2 separate regions of the Homo sapiens genome follow, and region 1 is linked to region 2. Evidence: promoter capture Hi-C in 16 types of primary human blood cells and fetal thymus (Javierre and others, 2016). All regions are on one chromosome and are shown on one strand. The core of a region is centred on a gene start or on the middle of the fragment in contact, and the rest is flanking DNA. Distances in the headings are between cores, read along the strand shown. Region 1 has its middle 45 kb from the start of THBS1. Region 2 holds the start of LINC02915 (long intergenic non-protein coding RNA 2915).

The links. Contacts are between HindIII fragments. The CHiCAGO score rates a contact against its expected background, and 5 or more counts as called.
Region 1: a contact is called between a fragment that was not itself captured here and the fragment with the promoter of LINC02915 in region 2, in 1 of 17 cell types (monocytes). The highest score is 5.5, in monocytes.

Annotation. Positions count from the first base shown.
Region 1 is chr15:39,534,812-39,537,627 of GRCh38, forward strand. No RefSeq gene overlaps it. Among named protein-coding and RNA genes, the nearest start is that of THBS1, 45 kb to the right of the region's middle. The HindIII fragment of the contact is 935 bases long and covers 1,100-2,034 here.
Region 2 is chr15:39,249,400-39,252,241 of GRCh38, forward strand. It overlaps LINC02915 (long intergenic non-protein coding RNA 2915), which reads left to right and starts at 1,270. Exons shown (of 2, transcript NR_144508.1): 1 at 1,270-1,464; 2 at 2,660-2,842. The region is part of intron 1 of LOC105370777 (a long non-coding RNA gene); the gene reads right to left. The HindIII fragment of the contact is 11,359 bases long and covers 1-2,842 here.

The DNA of each region.
Region 1 (2,816 bases), core at 317-2,816, 290 kb after region 2:
ATAACATGTCCATGAACCTGGGGGAACCACTCTTTTGAGAGACCTTGATCTTGGAGTTCCTCTGACTCAATATTAGGAGCAAGATAGAGTAAGACACCTATTTTTTTATGTTTGCCATTACATAAGAATGAATGAAACAAAGGCATAGTTCTGCATTGGTTAATAAAACAAAAAGCCCGCTAAAAGGCAATGTTATATATTCGGCAATCACATTTTGAAGACCAACTATATTCAAGACTCATGGCAGGTTCTGCATGCCACTGATGCATCTGCATGACCTTTCCAAGGCTATTTGTCACAGCAGCCCCGAAATCGTGGCCTCTAAGGGCCTAAGTGTTCTGGAGTAAATAGGCCAGGCCAGCACCTCTGAGAAATAGGGGCTCACCCCATCCTGAGCCACCTTCCCAGTCTCTGAGCAACCTCAGCATCAGTGGCCCTCTGACCGCATCAGCCTGTGGGTCCCTACTTGTCTGAACACATACAATTTTCTTTCTTTTAATTGGCAAGCTTTGAAAAACAAGTACATGAGTGAACACAGAGCAAAGAGTTTAGTCTGGGAGCTATTTCTCGTAAGTCTCTTTTGAGAAAGAGTTTCTAGCCCTTCCCCACTTTCATGAGATTAGAGAGATAAGAACAGGAACATGGAGGGAGGGGTCCACACTCTGGAAAACACTTTTGGATCTGATAACCACCCTAATGAAGCCCCAAAGCTATCGCCTTTGGATGGGTTTCTCAAACATGGAATTCTACCAGGATTTCTGTCAACAGGCCTCCTAATCCCCTCTCGCCTGCCAAGCCACATGCTACACAAAGGTGAAGAACAAGAAAGGCATTGAGACACGTGTTCTATCCAGCCAGGGGATGCACAATGTCTGCCCACGCAGGCTGCGTTATTATCAGCAGGAACTGACAGAGGGGTCTGTTCTCCCCTCTCCAGGCAGTGGAGGGGACGCTTCCCACCTCTGACCTGTGGCTGAGCCCAGCCCGAGCAGAAATCCCAGAAGAGGTCCCGGCCTTGCTCGCATCCTGCTTCCTGTGCTAAGACCTGGTCGGAATGAAAGATAGTAAAAGTTCTTTCACATTGGGAAGGCCTTTACAAAGCTTGCCTTTACTATTTTATAATCTCTACATTTTATTGTCCTTTTAAAATCACAAAAGCAAGCAGAAACATGAGGAGGCTGCTTTATTTGCTCTCCCATTCAACAACTGGGCTGCTGAGTTACCAGTTCCCCCTACTACTTGATTTGGAAATGGACACTAGAAATTTTTCCCACTTGTGACTGAAGCTGCAGAAACTTCAACCTGTTTTCAGTTACCCTGTTGTACCTAATAAGAGTCCATCCTCTTTTCAGTGGAAAGAAAGCCATGGACGAGGCATTGCAGGTCTAGTGTGGCTCTCAGACTCTCTGGGAGCAGCTGACGCACATTTAAGAACAGGGAGTCCCTGAAGGGTGGCTGAGGACAGATCACGAGACCAGAGGTGAGAGGCGCCCGACAGGGTTGGAGCCCTACTTTTGGGTGTGAGCAGTGGGGTCTGATGCACCACGGTGAAGGCATTCAGCAGCCAGGTCCTGAGTAGCAGAAACACAGGATACACAGAGGGCAATGTCTTAGAGCCACACCAACTGGGTAGGACTGAACAGATGGTCATTCAACAGATGATACACCTTTAGGGTGTATCAGCAATCCATTGGAAAACTTGTTAAAAGGCAGATTCTAGCTCAGCCCTAGATTCTGATCCAGCAGGCAGGAATCTGCATGTTTCCAGTTTTTCCAGCTGATTCTAATGTAGATGGACTCTGGATTGCCATTTGAGAGACACTGATGTAGAACAAGATCGGTTAGACTGGAGACATTGGCCAAGGTAATTTCTAGAGAAAATGTGCTTGCTCAAAGTCCTGAGGACAAATTTAAGATCAGAGTCTAGAGAAATGAACATGAACATACTCACAGCTTAAAGGCTAGGTTGGGAGGCCCAAAGGAAGCACATGTTCAAGGCACAAGCGAGTCATTACAGTGAACAAGCCTCAGAGAAGCTTCTGGAAGCCCATGATCTGGCAGATGGCACACACAATAGTATGGCAGATGGTACATACCAGGTAAACCCTAAATGCATAAGGTTCGTATTACACGTAGGAAAACAAGGCATAAGCCTAAGCAAGGGGCCTGGCCCCTCCAAATCTACAGGTAATGGGCAGAGTCCTTTAGAAGCATGGGTGCATTAGGGAATTTTACCTTGCCTCAACAGAAACTATGGTAAGCGTAGGTGCTGCAAGGAAGCCATACTTCAATTGCTCTACATCTATTATTCCAGCAAAGATGATGCTAGGTTCTATGAGAAATTCTAAAGACGACACAGCTCTGTTGTCAAAGAGCTTACGATATAATCATAAAGCACTTTAGAAAACTTGGCTATTTAAGTAAGCCCAAATACTGGATAATATTGAAGCAGTTGACTGCAATCTAGAGTACAAAGTGGGTCCTGTGCAGCCAGGAAAAAGCTCACAGAGTAGGCAGAGGGTCGAGACTAAGTGATTTAAAGCCCTCATAATTCTTTCTGCATGGCCCCTTTTTCCAGCAGGCCTGACCATGTTCTATGCAATTCACACCATCTGAAAATACATCGCAGCCCCCCTGTTCCCCTCACAGCATTAGTTCTCACCTTGAAGCTTCTGGGACTCACATTCAGCTTCTTGCCCTGTTCCTAGTCTCATCTTCTGATACTCCACCTTCCCTGTTAAGGTTTTGCCATGCCCTTGAACATGACATTAGATACAACTCCAGTTTTGACTCTTACTACCCTCTCTCTCCCCATT
Region 2 (2,842 bases), core at 20-2,519:
AAGTCACTCTCTACTGACAATCAAACCCAAGTCCTCTAGATTCTCCATAATATTATTTACATCTATCCTCTTCTATCCAGCCCTACTGTCCCTCCCTCATAGCTTACTAAGTTTTCCCCAAAAGCCTCCTGACCTCCCTTCTCTGTGTCCCCCCATTCTTTTCCTTTCTTCTTTCCTTTTCCTTCCTCTCTCAACATGTATCTCATCAATTCCAACCTGCTTAAAACCCTTCAGTGACTTCCCACTGACCTAAGATTAAGTCATTGCTCTCAAATATGGCACTGCTTACCCATTGTTCTGCATATTATATTCTCTCTCCATCACTTTCTATGTTCCAACCACATTGGACTTCTTTAATATCCTCAAAACTACAAGTCGTATACCAGGGAAGGGCTTTTACACAGGCTGTTTATTCACTGTGGAACACTCCCTCCTCCTCTTCTCTTAGCTCAGCCATTCGCAAACTTTTGGGGCTCGGCCCCTTTGTGCTCTCAAATCTTCTGAAGAACCCCAAAGACCTTTTCATTTTAAAAAAGGTAGATTATATCATTATATCATGTTGCAAATTAGAACCAATTCTTTTTTAAATATTTAATTCATTTTAAAACAACATAGTAAACTGATTATACCTTAACATAAATAACATTTTATGAAAACATAGCCACGTTTTCCAAAACCAAAAATACATGAGTGAGACTAGTAGTGCTGTTATGCATTTTTTGCAAATCTTACCAATATCTGGCTTACTAAAGGATAAATGGATTCTCATGTCTGCTTCTGCATTCAATCTGTTGTGAAATCTATGTTATGCAGCTTCTGTAAAACTCCATTGTACACTTGTAATGCAATAAGAATGAAAAGGCAAATGACTTCTTAGTATTATAGGAAAACAGTCTTAACTCCTCCCTAAAAGTGTCTTAGGCAGAGACATCCAGGAAACCCAAGGTATACATTAGGAACTCTTAATTATCCTTAATATCTTGTCTTAAAGTTAAAATTTGCAAAGATGTCTTTCCTGACCTCAAAGAATAGGTCTGAGTCCTCTTGTTATATGTTTCTATAACATTCTTACCTCTCTGTCAAAACACTCACCGTACCTATAATTTATTCAATAATTTGCATAAGGACAGGGACCATACCAACTTTGTTCATAGTGAGTCTCCAGTGCTCAGCACACAGCAAGGACTCAGAAAATCTTTGTGGGAGGAAGCAGGAAATAGAAGGGGGAGAGCAAGGAAGTAAGGCCTCAGACTCAATGACACAGCTCCCTGACAATCGCTCCATTCCTTCAGCAGGATGTACACAGAGATATAACTTTCTACAGCATCCACTGCAGCTCTGGGCTCCATTTCCCTTTGAAATGGGATGGGAGAAAGGGGCAGGTAACAGACTGGAGTGAGGAGACTGAGGAGAAACTGTAGAGAATAATACTTAGGAGTACACGTGCTGGATTCTCTCATTAAGGTAATCATTCAATATTTACTAAGCAGCTACAATTTGCCAGGCATTCTTCTGGGCACTTGGGACACATCAGTGAACAAAATAGAGAAAAGTTTCTGGCCTCAAGCGATTTACAGGCAGACCTGAACTCAACCACACATCCCTCCACTTGAGTTGGCCTGGATTGTTTGTTTAATCTTCTTGTGCCTTATTTCTCTCATCAGTAAAATGTGAACAAGCCTTGAGAGTTTCCAGGTGAGAACTAAATGAAAGAATATCTTTAATGTACCCAATAGAATCAGGCACCTGGTAGGTGCCTAATAAATGGAAATCTTTCTGCTGGCAACTCTTATTCCAAAATTGATTTTTTTTTCATGTACAGAAACTATTCGATAGATTAGAATCCAGTCACTCACAGGATATCACTTGGGTAGTTGTCGGGGAGGGGGAGTGGTGTATTTAGGGTCTTCTCAGGATTCGGGGGGCTGGCTGCAGTGTCATTTTCCTATAGAGAAGCATCACCTCTGGCTTCCTCTCTTCTTCACAAGCCACCTGGATATGTTTACATTGAACTATGCAAGGTACTATTGTAGTCTTAAGCTATGCAGTATTTCAAAACAGACTTTCCTGAGGACTCTTACAAAAATAATTATGCCACGAGTGTCAGACTATTTGAAAGAAGATATTCATAGCCAACTGTTTGTAAGGGACCACCTCCTTACATGGGTTTATTGTGTATCATAGGGTTGCTGGGGTTTTCCAACTTCACCCTCTGAGTGTGGGTTGGCCTTTCTGAGAAAGCTACACTGCCTTTGAAGTAGGACTACCAGGAGAGAGGGGGGAAAAAAAAGTGTAGGGCTCTTTGACTTTTCATTTCCCTTTCTATCTACTTACTCTTTGTGCCTTCTCCAGTTAGTACCACACTAGAGAAGTGTTAGGTAGAGGAAGAGGAAGAAAGAAAAAAGGACAATCTTATCAGTTGATTTTGCTATGTGTTACCAGTCTGGTAAAAACATTTGAAGTTAGAAAGTATTCAAACATGAATAAAGTTTGGGAATTACTTGTATGGATTTAATTTCCTCAGAATACCCTCATTGTTCCTTCGCAGGAAATATTCATGAGTCAACTATCCAGAATCATAGTTATTATTCAAGCGGTGTGGGTTTAAAAGGAGATTTGATGCCATGGCAAACCTCACTGACTTAGACTGTTCTTCAAGTTAAAGAGCAGGATGATGTCTGAAGTGGCTGAAACACATATGGCTTCAGTGTGTCAAGAAGACCTGAAAGATCCCACATGGAAGTGAAATTCATTACTGGCAAGCACGGTGGCAGGAGACCCCAGAGGGCTGAGCCGCAAAGAATTTGCAGAGCCTTATGGCTAACTCCATGGCCTAGTTTGA